Regions from separate parts of the Homo sapiens genome. Here regions 1, 2, 3 and 4 are each linked to region 5. Evidence: promoter capture Hi-C in 16 types of primary human blood cells and fetal thymus (Javierre and others, 2016). All regions are on one chromosome and are shown on one strand. The core of a region is centred on a gene start or on the middle of the fragment in contact, and the rest is flanking DNA. Distances in the headings are between cores, read along the strand shown. Region 1 overlaps ALG5 (ALG5 dolichyl-phosphate beta-glucosyltransferase). Region 2 has its middle 12 kb from the start of SUPT20H. Region 3 overlaps ALG5 (ALG5 dolichyl-phosphate beta-glucosyltransferase). Region 4 overlaps SUPT20H (SPT20 homolog, SAGA complex component). Region 5 holds the start of CCNA1 (cyclin A1).

The links. Contacts are between HindIII fragments. The CHiCAGO score rates a contact against its expected background, and 5 or more counts as called.
Region 1: a contact is called between a fragment that was not itself captured here and the fragment with the promoter of CCNA1 in region 5, in 5 of 17 cell types (M0 macrophages, total B cells, erythroblasts and 2 more). The highest score is 9.1, in M0 macrophages.
Region 2: a fragment that was not itself captured here is called in contact with the fragment with the promoter of CCNA1 in region 5 in 2 of 17 cell types (M1 macrophages and total B cells); the score reaches 8.4 in M1 macrophages.
Region 3: a contact is called between a fragment that was not itself captured here and the fragment with the promoter of CCNA1 in region 5, in 8 of 17 cell types (M0 macrophages, naive B cells, erythroblasts and 5 more). The highest score is 11.6, in M0 macrophages.
Region 4: a contact is called between a fragment that was not itself captured here and the fragment with the promoter of CCNA1 in region 5, in 1 of 17 cell types (M0 macrophages). The highest score is 7.8, in M0 macrophages.

What each region holds. Positions count from the first base shown.
Region 1 is chr13:36,949,460-36,952,159 of GRCh38, forward strand. ALG5 (ALG5 dolichyl-phosphate beta-glucosyltransferase) reads right to left here. Exons shown (of 10, transcript NM_013338.5): 10 at 279-598. The coding sequence ends at 483. Among named protein-coding and RNA genes, the nearest start is that of SMAD9, 31 kb to the left of the region's middle. The HindIII fragment of the contact is 3,861 bases long and covers 1-2,700 here.
Region 2 is chr13:37,070,075-37,072,774 of GRCh38, forward strand. No RefSeq gene overlaps it. Among named protein-coding and RNA genes, the nearest start is that of SUPT20H, 12 kb to the left of the region's middle. The HindIII fragment of the contact is 897 bases long and covers 916-1,812 here.
Region 3 is chr13:36,966,356-36,969,055 of GRCh38, forward strand. All of the region lies in intron 7 of ALG5 (ALG5 dolichyl-phosphate beta-glucosyltransferase), which reads right to left. Among named protein-coding and RNA genes, the nearest start is that of ALG5, 32 kb to the right of the region's middle. The HindIII fragment of the contact is 581 bases long and covers 1,142-1,722 here.
Region 4 is chr13:37,012,493-37,015,192 of GRCh38, forward strand. The region is part of intron 23 of SUPT20H (SPT20 homolog, SAGA complex component); the gene reads right to left. Among named protein-coding and RNA genes, the nearest start is that of EXOSC8, 13 kb to the left of the region's middle. The HindIII fragment of the contact is 1,872 bases long and covers 404-2,275 here.
Region 5 is chr13:36,431,173-36,433,939 of GRCh38, forward strand. It overlaps CCNA1 (cyclin A1), which reads left to right and starts at 1,323. Exons shown (of 9, transcript NM_001413923.1): 1 at 1,323-1,557; 2 at 1,861-2,049. The coding sequence starts at 1,885. RefSeq lists silencers at 627-696, 977-1,026, 1,057-1,216. The HindIII fragment of the contact is 15,627 bases long and covers 1-2,767 here.

The DNA of each region.
Region 1 (2,700 bases), core at 41-2,540, 520 kb after region 5:
ACACCTTTGTGACTAAGTCTGTATTCTTGCCTTTAACATATAATTTCCTAAAGTTTCATAGGCTGAAATAGGTTTCTTTGATTTGGATAAATTTATGTACATTTAAACTTATACCCTAGCTTTATTTTTAAATCTCTGAAAACTGTTACATGATTGTAGTTTATAGTTAAGTTCATGAGAGTTATGCAGGCACTTTAGGGTAAGAATAGCTTCTGTCTACAAAAATTATGTTTCTCAGAATTATAATGATAATGAAGCTAAACAAACAAAAGAAAATCTGACTTTTTAAATAAACATCTTTTAAAAATCATTTATATCCAAAGAGATATATAATTTTTTACTTATGGAAAGTTATTTCTTTAAAATTATCAAAAGGCAGACAATGACAAGAAGTTTATTTCAGCTTTACTTAAAATTTTAGTTTCAAATGAAATGAAATGTGACACTGAAGCATAAGAACACAACTGAAGACTGCAAACAACCTAATTCATTTTCCGAGTTTGCTCAAGCCTCCAGGCACCAGTCAAATATCGAAGTCGTATAAAAAGTAGGTCTTTACCCATTTGTAGCCAGCTCCAGAATGGAACTAATTTAGAACCTGTGATTTAAAAATAATTAAAAACAAATTAGCTTAAATAAACTCAGCAGAAAACGTATCAGTTTAAAGTCAGTCTACATGATCGTTGTGAGCCTTTAGCACCTTAATTTTTTAAATCATGGACCAAAAAGTTAAACAATTTCAAAGCTGAAGTGAGTGGAGTGGTTTTCTCTAAAAACAAAAACAGAACATCTTGAAGTGAAATGAAACTTGAGAGGATCTAAATAGTGAAAATTTCATACGGCCCTACTATAGAAAGGAAGGACTACATATGGTGAGGGCTCTAGAAGTCTAATAAAAAAACTACTCACTGAGTGCTCATTACTGAAAATAATTACATATGAAACAACTAAAGATACAGCACAACAGATAAATATGATTATTTCTACATAAATCCAATCTTAATGATAAAAAATAAAGCCTATGATCAGACTTAAGATAATTTTGTCCAGACCTCTTTGTCTCGGGCTACACAAGAACACCAGCCTAATTAAATATCTGATCCACATATCACAGCAGATTCTTTTTTTGTTTTTTTTTTAAACAAGATCTTGCTCTGTCACCCAGGCTGTAGTGCAGTGACACGATTATGGCTCACTGTAACCTTGACCTCCCGGGCTCAAACGATCCAGTCCTCCTACCTCAGCCTCCCCAGTAGCTGGGAGTACAGGAGGCACGCACCACACCTGCCTAATTTTACAATTTTTTTATAGAGATGAGGTCTCACTGTGTTGCCCAGGCTGGTCTCAAACTCCTAGGCTCAAGTGATCCTCCCAACTTAGGCTCCCAAAGTGCTGGGATTACAGGCATGAGTGACTGCACCCAGCCACAGCAGATTCTTATAACCATTACTTATAGTATATACGTGCAGATAAAGTATCAGGAGGAAGGTTTAACATTTCATTATCATTTTAATTATACTTTATATTTAAAGAAGACCTTTTTCACTGCTCTGAATTTATATGACAGCTTTCTTCTGAAAACATTACCACCAAAGCACTGTAGAGACATTATCGTTTATCAGGGCCAAAAATTATCTTCATCCCACAAATGAGGAAGTTGAGGTACCTACAATTCATATTACAAGACAACTATCTCTGTAATGCAAATAAGCAAATGACTAAACATAAAATGGACTTTTACTTTTCCCCACCTCATCTTCCCATAGAGTCTAGGTTGGCCAAAGATCAACACAAATCAACAAAGTTGATCATGATACCCCTGAGTGATCCTTTGACCTGCTTCCCAATCCCCTTTGATTCTAGGCAGCTACTGTGGAGATGAGCTAAGATTTTGTAAACTCAGTTTGATTCAGCAAGATGTAAAGAGGTTTGAATTCATCCTAGACTATACAGTTTGTATAATCTCGAGATTGGTTCTTAACCTTTTTCTGTCCCTAAACATCTGAGGTTACAGAGCAATAATGGTTTACTGCAACAAGGACTCTCACCAGAAGAGCTGGACTTCGAAAAAGTCTCCAGTTGATTATGTTAACTGCTCCCACACTGTGAATTAATTTAGGTTCATTCTAAGGTAAGGAGAAAACTAGAATATGTTTAAAATTCTATACAGCCAGAGCTGTCTAAGCCTTTTAAAATAGGAATTATTAAGATTTATGATAGATTTCAAGTTATTATAGAGTTGGGATCTTTATACTTTTGGATATATGTACAGATATAGTTTTTAAATGGCTCTGGATTGACTGTGGACATTTGGAGTAAAAACACTTTTAGTTATTTATTTTTTCAGATGGAGTTTCACTCGTTGCCCAGGCGGGAGTGCAATGGTGCAATCTTGGCTCACCGCAACCTTTGCCTCTCGGGTTCAAGCAATTCTTCTGCCTCAGACTCCTGACTAGCTGGGATTACAGGTGCCTGACACCACGCCCGGCCATCTTTTTGTATTTTTTAGTAAAGACGGGGTTTCACCCTGTTGGCCAGACTGGTCTTGAACTCCTGACCTTAGGTGATCCACCCCCTCGGTCTCCGAAAGTGCTGGGATTACAGGCATGAGGCATGGTGCTCGGCCATAAAAAAAATTTTTATTTCTTATTTAGCTTTGCATAGTGGTTTGCAGGTACCTAATTAATATCCACCTAGTGA
Region 2 (2,700 bases), core at 114-2,613, 640 kb after region 5:
GGCCTCTCCCTGTTCCCTGCACTGCTTTGATCTTGGAGCTGGGTTGGGGCCAAGCTCAGGGCAGTGCTGACACGCCAGCCCCCTGCTGCCTAGACCCCCTCCGGACTTTGGGCACTGAGGAGTACAGGGGAAGCCGAGGGGTGGCTGAGAGCAGCTTGGTGCTGGCCTACAGGTGCCCCTTGACTCGAGCATTCTGGGCTCCATGGACAGCTGCAGGAGGCAGACAGGCTGTTAAGAGGGTAGAAGGGGGCAGGTCCCTGGTTAGGCCAGGGAAGGCCTGAAGGCTTGGGGCTGACTGCCCATCCAGTTGATAGGAGTGGGAGGTGGTGGCTTTTCTGGCCACCCGCCATGGCCTCTCATAGACCAATCAGCGGGCACTTCTGAGGCCATAAAAGCCCAGGACTCAGCCAGAGCTGAACAGATGACGGGATGACCAGCTGCAGAGAGGAGCTACCCTCTCTGCTGGTAGCTGGACCATGGGAGGAACAGCTGCAGAGAGGAGCCACTCTCCCTGCCAAGAGTGAACACTTGTTGGGACGACTTGCCTGCAGAGAGGAGCTACCAGCTCTCAGTTAGGAGCTGAACACTTGACGGGACATCCTGGCTGAGGAAAGGAGCTGCCCCTTGTGGGAGACTGAGCTGTTCTATCGCTCAATAAAGCTCTTCATCATCTTGCTCACCCTTCACTTGCATGCGTACCTCATTCTTCCTGGTCACAAGACAAGAACTTGGGACCCACTAAATGGCAAGGCTAAGAGAACTGTAATACAAACAGGGCTGAAACATGCCCCTTGCTCCCCACGTTACAGGCAGAGAGAAGGAGAGCTGTGGCCCTTTGGGGAGTCTAGACCTGGGAGCTCCCTGAGCCAGGGCTGTGACTCCTTCTTTGAGGCCCTGTGGTTCCTGGCATCTCCAAGCTTCCAGGCACCACTGCTTTCCCTGGTGCCAGCCAGGGAAGCTCCTTGTGGTGCGCCCTGTCCAGCTGCAGCCTCACTGAGAGCCGGCGCCTATGCTGGCATCTGGAGCTGCCCGCCCCATGGCAGCAGCTGCATGTCTGACTGCGCAGTGGCCAGACCCCGTGCTCACACACACAACTCTTGCTGCTCCATGCTTGACTCACTGTCTCCCTTGGAGGTGTGGGATCCAGGCCAGTAGCATGAGCTGAGTACAGCCTGCTAGGCCAAGTGGGCAGAACGAGCCCAGTGGGCTGAGCAAAACTTGGGCAAGGCCTCCACCAGCCACAGGTTTCCAGCCAGGAGAAGGACACCTCAAAGATCCCATAACATTACCAAACTTGAAAGAGATTTCCCTAATCAAAATTATTAATTTATTGATAATTAGCAGAAAGATAATAGCTGAATCCAAGGAAAAGAAGAAGGTGGGTAGGCTATAAAGGCAAGAGAGCCCTTATATAATAAAGGCAACAGAACTTACAAAGATGCCTGATAAATGTCAGGTGCATTGCTAATTCCCTTGTTTCGACAAGGGAAGATTTGGGGCTTGAAAAAATACCTGGAGTTGCTGGTGTTTTAGTGAATATTCAATTTATTAAAATTATGAGTTTATAAATTTAGATTTCTTAAGACTTTAATCTCAAAATGCTAATTTTATTATAAATTCAGAAACTTATTTCAATTAAAAAGTCTCTTTTTCTTAACACCTCAGGGGATTCTTAAGTGCCCTGGAGTGTGAGAATCATTGTTCTGTAATGTATAATAATTTTCAGCCTTTTTTTTTTAAATAAGTAAGGTTTCTAAATTCCAATTAATGAATCTCTATTGACTTGTTTTCTCAGTGAGGCTGTCAAAGGGAAGCTTGATAGCTTTGGCATGAAATTCCATAGCATGTGTGGTTCTCATTGACATATGCTAAACCTGTTTCCTCCAGCCAGCAGTGGTTTCAGGGGAGTGTGTCTGACTTTTTCCTGAGGGTGACCCTGATAAAGAAAGAGAGAAAAAGAAAAGAATAATAAAGCAGGCATTGAAAGCAGAGAAACGTAGTGGTCCCCACTGTAGAATTTGATTCATTTCTTGCCCCTTTCTTCCTTTATCCAGGCAAACTTATTGAACAGGCATTCGTATAACTGGGCCACTGCCTGCAGAACATCGCCAGGATTTGCTCTGATTCACGTTTGCATCTATTAAAACATAACCTTTGGCACATTAAAAACTAAGAGTTTATTTGAGCAGACTGTGACCATGAAACAGGCAGGGAATGGCTAGGGGCTCACACAGAAATAGAGGCTCCTGGAAGAGGTTGAAGGAAAAACTTTTATAAGGTGAATGTGAAAGCAAAGAAATTATTTGTCTGGTTAAAGTTTGAGCAATTGCCTTATTTGGACTATTTCAGTGAAAGATTCAAGACAATATAAATAATGCCCAATTGGCCATTTGTGATTTGCTGAGATAAAGTTTAAAATTCCGTTAGGTTTCAGTTTGCTTATGTAGGAATCCAGGGTGTCAGAGCCACTTCAGTCTAATGGCCTCCCATTTAGTTATTTTAACACATCTCTAATGCCTACTCCAATCTTGGTGCTCAATATTCATTCATTAATAACTATTTCCTGAGAGCCTCTAATATACTAGGTATGCTTCTAACTGCTGGGAACATTAGCAGTGTCCAAAGGGATAAACATGTAGGCCCTCAGAGAGATACTTCCTAGAGGGAGAAATGAATAAATGAGAACACATAGTACATTAT
Region 3 (2,700 bases), core at 182-2,681, 540 kb after region 5:
TACTGATGATTAATTTTATTAGTAGTAACAGAATATTCCATTATTCATAAAACATAGCACATTTTAAAACATAAGAACATAAGATTATTATCACTGGATTCCAGACTTTCACATTTAAGATTTAGTAAAAGATAGGATCTTTCTAAAAAATAAAATAACAAAATTTTTTTTAGAGACAGAGACGCCTTCTGTTGTCCAGGCTAGAGTCCAGTGGTGTGGTCATGGTTCACTGCAGCCTCAAATTCCTGGGATCAAGTGATCCTTCTGCCTCAACCTACAGAGCAGCTGGGATCACAGGCGTGTGCCACTATACCCAGCTTCTTTAAGACACGATCTTTTAAAATGTTCCTTAGTTAAGGCAATAGACTCAAGTAATGATGCGTTACTTACATACATAAGCAACCTATTAAGAGTCTATTAGAACATTTAATATCTCATACTATGGGATAAAGGTCCCTTCCTCCTTTTGGCTTTTGCTTTTCAAAATTATAATTTTTAGTATCGTTCTTCCTTTGCATGGCTTTTTCCATCAACACCAAACAGAACCACAGTGGAACAGAGTAACAAAGAAAAAGCACCAAATCAGGCGAGGTGCGGTGGCTCACACCTGTAATCCCAGCACTCTGGGAGGCCGAGGCAGGTGGATTGCTTGAGGTCAGGGGTTCAAGACCAGCCTGCCCAACATGGCGAAACCCCATCTCTACTAAAAATACAAAAATTAGCCAGGCATGGTGGCACACGCCTGTAGTCCCAGCTACTTAGGAGGCTGAGGCAGAAGAATCGCTTGAACTTGGGAGGCACAGGTTGCAATGAGCCGAGATGGCGCCACTGTACCCCAGCCTGGGTGACAGAGTGAGACTCCAACTCAAAAAAAAAAAAAAAGAAAAAAAGAAAAGAAAAGAAAAAGCACCAAACTAGGAGGCCTATATTGGAATCCTGGCTCCGTTACTAATTAGCAGGGTGACCTTCAACAAGTTACTTCAGCCCTCTAAGTCCATTTCCTGATAAAATGAGAATAATGCCTACCTCACAAAGTTATTATAAGGATTAAATGAGATTATTTTAAAGAATATAGCGAAGTGTTTGGCACAGAAAATAACAGGAACTCAATAATGTTCTTCATACAGGAAGAAAGCTTGAAAGCTTACTTTACTCTCCTGACCACAATTTTACTTATGTATTAAATAGGGCAGGAAGGAAAGGAAGAATAAAATACTTATCTATATGGTATGTAAAACAAACTTTTAAAAATGATCTAGCACTTCTCATTTATCATCTAGAATCATTAGTTATGGGTTGATGTAAATATGTCTTACCTCTCTAAGTAGATAGGGCAGAAACCTCATCTTAAAATACTTTAGGAATCTCACAACAGCTTGCTCAGTGCCTTCCATACAAAATACTTCCAATAAATACTGGTTGACTGATTAAACCTCCAAAAGAGCACTTATGCTTAGGAAAGGAACAAATAGAAATTGAAAGATAGAAAAATAAAAATTAAAGGTAGAAAAACAATACCTATAAATTATTCTCCTTGAGTGATTTTTAATGTGATTTGAGTGAGCTTATTTGTTCGCAAATAAAACTATTCATGACTGCTCTGGCTTGGATGTTAATAACAGGATTTTTGTTTGCTTTAGGATAATGGCTATTTTTTAAAAAGCAGAAAAATGTAGAGTTCACATGAAGACCTTAAGTTATTTGATTTCTAACATATTTAAAAGCTTAACAAGGTTAGTCACAAACAAGATAATCTTGTTTTTGTTTTTAGAACTTTGCAAAATATCTTAAAATTTAGAAGATACCTAAAATATAGGATAGACTTATTTAGTTAAGTGAAGCTACTAAAAGAGAGAAGGCTTATATGATCTTCTGAAATGGCCATTTAAAACATTAAGGAAAACAATTTTCACTGTTTCAGTGTTAACGCTAGTATCTTCAATGTTTATAAAATGTAAACAAGAAATTAATTCAGGTGAAATTTAAAGGTGACTTCTAATTTCATTAACTTAAAATAAGAAGTTCAAAGAAGTCCCAGGACTTAAGCAAAGACTCTTTAAACAAAAACTAAAAACATTAAGTAACCACTAATGGATTCTATTTTTGAATCCTTTTAAAATGATAAATTCAAGAATAGCCAGACCATATATAAACATTACCGTTATACAGAACACATGGGAATGTAAGCACTTTTAAGGATGATACAAGACTCTATCAGGGCAGTGTCATGTTTGTCTTCCAAGGGAGCAGTAAAAGAGGTGGTAGAATAATTGAGAAATGTAGAAAAATATCAAGGAAAGATGTTTCTGAACATTAGGCAATAAGCTACCGAAGTTGTCATTTGCTATCTTGATTAGTTCTTTTATAATTTTCTCATTGTCCACAGATTGATCACCATGCAGGGGTTTATTACTGACAGCACACGAAGGGAAATGGAAAGCCATGCTGCAGTTTTCTAGACATGAGGCGGATGCATGTCTTGTGCCTTCTTGGAGACAACCTTTTGTGAGACAGCTATGATTCTATAAGAATAAGCTGGACTTGAACAAGCCTACTGAGCAGTAGTTGTCATAGCATCTGCAGCGGACAACCAATGATCTCTAGTGAGTATCAAAGGTTATCCCTTCTTTCTATAGAATGGCAGCCAATTCTGTGGGAATCAAGAACACTAAACCAAACACTTGGTTTTAGAGCTGAAAG
Region 4 (2,700 bases), core at 90-2,589, 580 kb after region 5:
CATTTTTCAGTGCATCTGTATTTATTGTTTAATGCTACCTAGATAACGCCTAAGGCTTTTATAAAGCTTCACTGAAACAATTTTTTAAAGCTTAAAACACCCTTTGTAACATAAACATAGTGCTGGAACTTTTAGTCAGCAGACTAAGTCAAGAAAAGGAAATAAAAGGTATATAGATTTTATAGGAAAAAATAAAATTGTCCTTATTTTCAAATGGCACAACTGTCTATATGGTAGAAAACCCTAAGCAATCTCCAAAACAGCTCCTAGAAGTAGTAAGTCCAGTAAGAGGGCACAAAACAAGACCAATATACAAAAATCAACACTATATATACTAGTAATGAACATGTGAAAACTGAAATAAAAAAAATACCATTCACAATTACTCAAAAAAAAAGAGAAAAGCTTAGGTATTAATCTTAAGTCTAAGAAAACATATACAGGGCTTGTATACCAAAAACTACAAAACATTGACTTTGGTCTAGATAAGGACATATACTATGTTCATGTACTGGAAGACTCACATCATAAAGATGGCAGTTCTTCCCCCAAACTGATCAACAAGTTTAACTCAATTCTTTTAGAAATGCTGGCAAGGTTTTTGTAGATATAGACAAGATGACTTTAAAATGTATATGGAAAGGTAGAGAACCTACATTAGCTACAACAATTTTGAAAAATGGTATGGGAGAAAACACTGCCCAATTTTAAGACACTACAATGAACAAGACAGTGTGGTATTGGCTGAAGGAGAGACACATAGATTAATGAAACAGAACAGGGAACCTAGAAATAGACCCACTCAAATAGACCCAACTGACTTTTAACAAATGTGCAGAAGTAATTCAATTCAGAAAGAATAGCTGTTTTTTTTCTTTGTTGTTGTTTTCTTTTTTTTCAACAAATGGTATTGAAACAATTGGATACTGATAGGAAAACAAAAACAAACAAAAACAAAACACGGACCTAAGTTGCACATCTTGTACAAAAATTAACTGAAAATGGATCATGGATTCAAAATAAGAAACTATAAAACTGTTAGAAAAAAAACACAGGAGAAAATCTTTGGGACCTAGAGCTAGGTAAAGAGTTCCGAGACATGAAAACTAGAGGATATTCCATAAAGAAAAGATACTGTTAACTTGGACTTCAGCAAAATTAAAAACTTTTGCTCTGCAAAAGACATCCTTTGGTACCACCTAAAATAGTGTCTGAAGTAACATTTCAGTATATAATTGCAAGCCAAACATTTCAAAAGTTACATTTATCTTGAGGGGATCTCCCTGGATATAAAAGATTGGACAAAAGAGCACAGAGCTGAAAGGAGGACACATTATTGAATTTGGAACCCAGTTCATGAAATGAACAACAGAATAAGGCAGACCACATCACCACCATAACGGAGCTATGATAAAACAAACAAAAAAACTCAAAATGCAAAAAAACTACAGGTGATATCAATTTCCCCCCAAAGCACTCCACAAACCTAATGTAGACTATAAGCCACCACCACAAATGGAATATTCAAACAAGGAGGAATAATGATTAAACAAACATCTTGAAGAAGAAAACAAATACTAAGAAATAAAAGGACTCAGGCTAAAACTAAAAGGATGAAAAAAGACGTACTAAGCTAACGTTAATCAAAAGAAAGAAACAAGAAATATTACCAGAGATAAAGAAGGTCATTTATTAATGATAAGGGGTAAATTAATCAAGGAAATAACAATCCTAAATGTATATGCACCTAACAATATGGGCTCAAAAAACAACCTTTAGCAAAAGGAAAAATAGAAATTTTCAGTTTTGGTTGAAGACTTCAACACTTCTCTCAGTAACTGATAAAACATACAGAAAGAAAAGGATATAGAAGACCTGAATGATGCCATCAAATACCTTGATCTAATATGGAACACTCCTAACAGCAGAATATACATTTTTTCAGCCATATATGGAGTATTCATCAAGACAGATCACGTTCTCAAGCATTAAACAAACCTCAACAAACTTAAAAGAACCAAAAATATGTTTTCAGATCACAGTGGATTTAAACTAGAAATCAACTGCAGAAAGATATTTGGAAAATTCCCAAGTATTTGGAAATCAAACATATCTAAATAACTGATTTAAGAGGAATCCATAAGAAAATTCTGTGGAACAAAATGAAGGCACAGCATATCAAAATTTGTGGAAAGTGGCTTAAGCAGTACTGAGAAGGAAATGTGTAACATTAATTGTTTATTTTAGAAAAGAATGACCTCAACACAATAATCTAAGCTTCCACTTACGAAACTACAAACTATCATCCAAGAAAACATTCCAGAAATAAAGAAGTGACTCTACACATTAAAAGGATCCACAGGAAAAACATGGAAAAATCAATTCTGACACACACACCAGTGAAAATATTAGACAAGCATTCAGGGCCTCTAGGCAAACTGCTTAAATAAACTTACAAGAGCAAGATAATTAGACTGGCATCAGATTTCTCAAAAACATATAAAGCAAGTCAACAGTAGGAAGAGTTCTTAATAAATTTAAAGGAGACCTAAAACTAGAGAACATTTATAAGAAAACAAGTGAAAATGCTTCAGGACATTGGATTTGGCAATGATCTTCAATATGATACCAAAAGCACAGGCAAGAAAAGTAAAAAGAGAAAATGAACTACATTAAAATAAAAAAAAAAAAAACTTCTGT
Region 5 (2,767 bases), core at 73-2,572:
TAAAGTGGCCATTTGAATAGACTTTGGATCTGATTTAGAGATTTAGGGATGGATGTTTTAAAAAAAGCAAAAGTAGTAACAGACTATAGCATTGGTAATGTGTGTGTGCATATATACATATTATTTTTAAAAAAATAAAGTTCGATTATTTCACCTGGCTTGTCAGTCACCTATGCAGGCGTCTGAGCCCCCGGGTTTCCAGGAGCCCCCCGTATAAGGACCCCAGGGACTCCTCTCCCCACGCGGCCGGGCCGCCCGCCCGGCCCCCAGCCCGGAGAGCTGCCACCGACCCCCTCAACGTCCCAAGCCCCAGCTCTGTCGCCCGCGTTCCTTCCTCTTCCTGGGCCACAATCTTGGCTTTCCCGGGCCGGCTTCACGCAGTTGCGCAGGAGCCCGCGGGGGAAGACCTCTCGTGGGGACCTCGAGCACGACGTGCGACCCTAAATCCCCACATCTCCTCTGCCGCCTCGCAGGCCACATGCACCGGGAGCCGGGCGGGGCAGGCGCGGCCCGCAAGGACCCCCGCGATGGAGACGCAACACTGCCGCGACTGCACTTGGGGCAGCCCCGCCGCGTCCCAGCCGCCTCCCGGCAGGAAGCGTAGGTGTGTGAGCCGACCCGGAGCGAGCCGCGCCCTCGGGCCAGCGTGGGCAGGGCGCCGCAGCCTGCGCAGCCCCGAGGACCCCGCGTCGCTCTCCCGAGCCAGGGTTCTCAGGAGCGGGCCGCGCAGGAGACGTTAGAGGGGGTTGTTAGCGGCTGTTGGGAGAACGGGTCACGGAAACAGTCCCTTCCAAAGCCGGGGCCATCGTGGGGTGGGCGAGTCCGCCCTCCCAGGCCGGGGGCGCGGACCAGAGGGGACGTGTGCAGACGGCCGCGGTCAGCCCCACCTCGCCCGGGCGGAGACGCACAGCTGGAGCTGGAGGGCCGTCGCCCGTTGGGCCCTCAGGGGCCTGAACGCCCAGGGGTCGCGGCGAGTCCACCCGGAGCGAGTCAGGTGAGCAGGTCGCCATGGCGATGCGGCCCCGGAGAGCGCACGCCTGCCGCGGTCGGCATGGAAACGCTCCCGCTAGGTCCGGGGGCGCCGCTGATTGGCCGATTCAACAGACGCGGGTGGGCAGCTCAGCCGCATCGCTAAGCCCGGCCGCCTCCCAGGCTGGAATCCCTCGACACTTGGTCCTTCCCGCCCCGCCCTTCCGTGCCCTGCCCTTCCCTGCCCTTCCCCGCCCTGCCCCGCCCGGCCCGGCCCGGCCCTGCCCAACCCTGCCCCGCCCTGCCCCGCCCAGCCGGCCACCTCTTAACCGCGATCCTCCAGTGCACTTGCCAGTTGTTCCGGACACATAGAAAGATAACGACGGGAAGAGCGGGGCCCGCTTTGGGGTCCAGGCAGGTTTTGGGGCCTCCTGTCTGGTGGGAGGAGGCCGCAGCGCAGCACCCTGCTCGTCACTTGGGATGGAGACCGGCTTTCCCGCAATCATGTACCCTGGATCTTTTATTGGGGGCTGGGGAGAAGAGTATCTCAGCTGGGAAGGACCGGGGCTCCCAGATTTCGTCTTCCAGGTAACGTGGGTTTAGTATCCCGACTTGGAGGCTTGTCAGAATGTTTCTCTCCTTCCAGCCCAACACGAAGTCTTGGGATAAAAAGCCTCCCTCAGGGATTCAAATAACTGTTTTGATTCAGAGCAACTTTGATCGCCTGTGCGGTCGCACCTGCCCTTTCAGCCCCAATAATTACTGGGAAGATCAGCAATTGGTGTTAGTCCCATTGCTTGGTGCTCTCCCTCCTAGAGGTTCGCTGTGTCCTTGGAGCCCGGGGTGGACGGAATCGACTAAACAGCTTGTCTGTTTCTCTTTCCCTGGTAGCAGCAGCCCGTGGAGTCTGAAGCAATGCACTGCAGCAACCCCAAGAGTGGAGTTGTGCTGGCTACAGTGGCCCGAGGTCCCGATGCTTGTCAGATACTCACCAGAGCCCCGCTGGGCCAGGATCCCCCGCAGAGGACAGTGCTAGGGCTGCTAACTGCAAATGGGCAGTACAGGAGGACCTGTGGCCAGGTAATGACTCAGACGCATTGAGAATGATGCTTGTGGAGAACAGCTCTCCTGCTTTGGTGCCAGGTGCTTTTCTCTTGCCCTTGTACCTACAACTCCCCCTGAGTATTACAACCCTGGAATCTGGACTACAGGAAAGTTGATTGATTTATTTTCTTTCTTTCTTTCTTTCTTTCTTTCTTTCTTTCTTTCTTTCTTTCTTTCTTTCTTTCTTTCTTTCTTTCGTTCTTTCTTTCTTTCTTTTCTTTCTCTTTCTTTCCTTCTTTCTTTTTCTTTGTTTCTCTTCCTTCTTCCTTTCCTTTTTTTTTCTTTCCTTTCCTTTCCTTCTTTTTTTTTTTTTGAGACGGAGTTTCGCTCTTGTCGCCAGGCTGGAGTGCAGTGACGCGATCTCGGCTCACTGCAACCTCCACCTCCCGGGTTCAAGCGATTCTCCTGCCTCAGCCTCCCGAGTAGCTGGGATTTCAGGCACCCACCACCACGCCCGGCTAATTTTTGTGTTTTTAGTAGAGATGGGATTTCACCATGTTGGCCAGGCTGGTCACCAACTCCTGACCTCAGGTGACCCGCCCACCTCGGCCTCCCAAAGTGTTGGGATTACAGGCGTCAGCCACGGTGGCAGGCCAGTTGATTTCTTAAGATCACCTTGAGGGGTTCGGTTTTCAGCTAGAAATAGTGATTAGTTTTCTTTGTTATTTTTTCCACTATCAAGGAAATAGGTCTA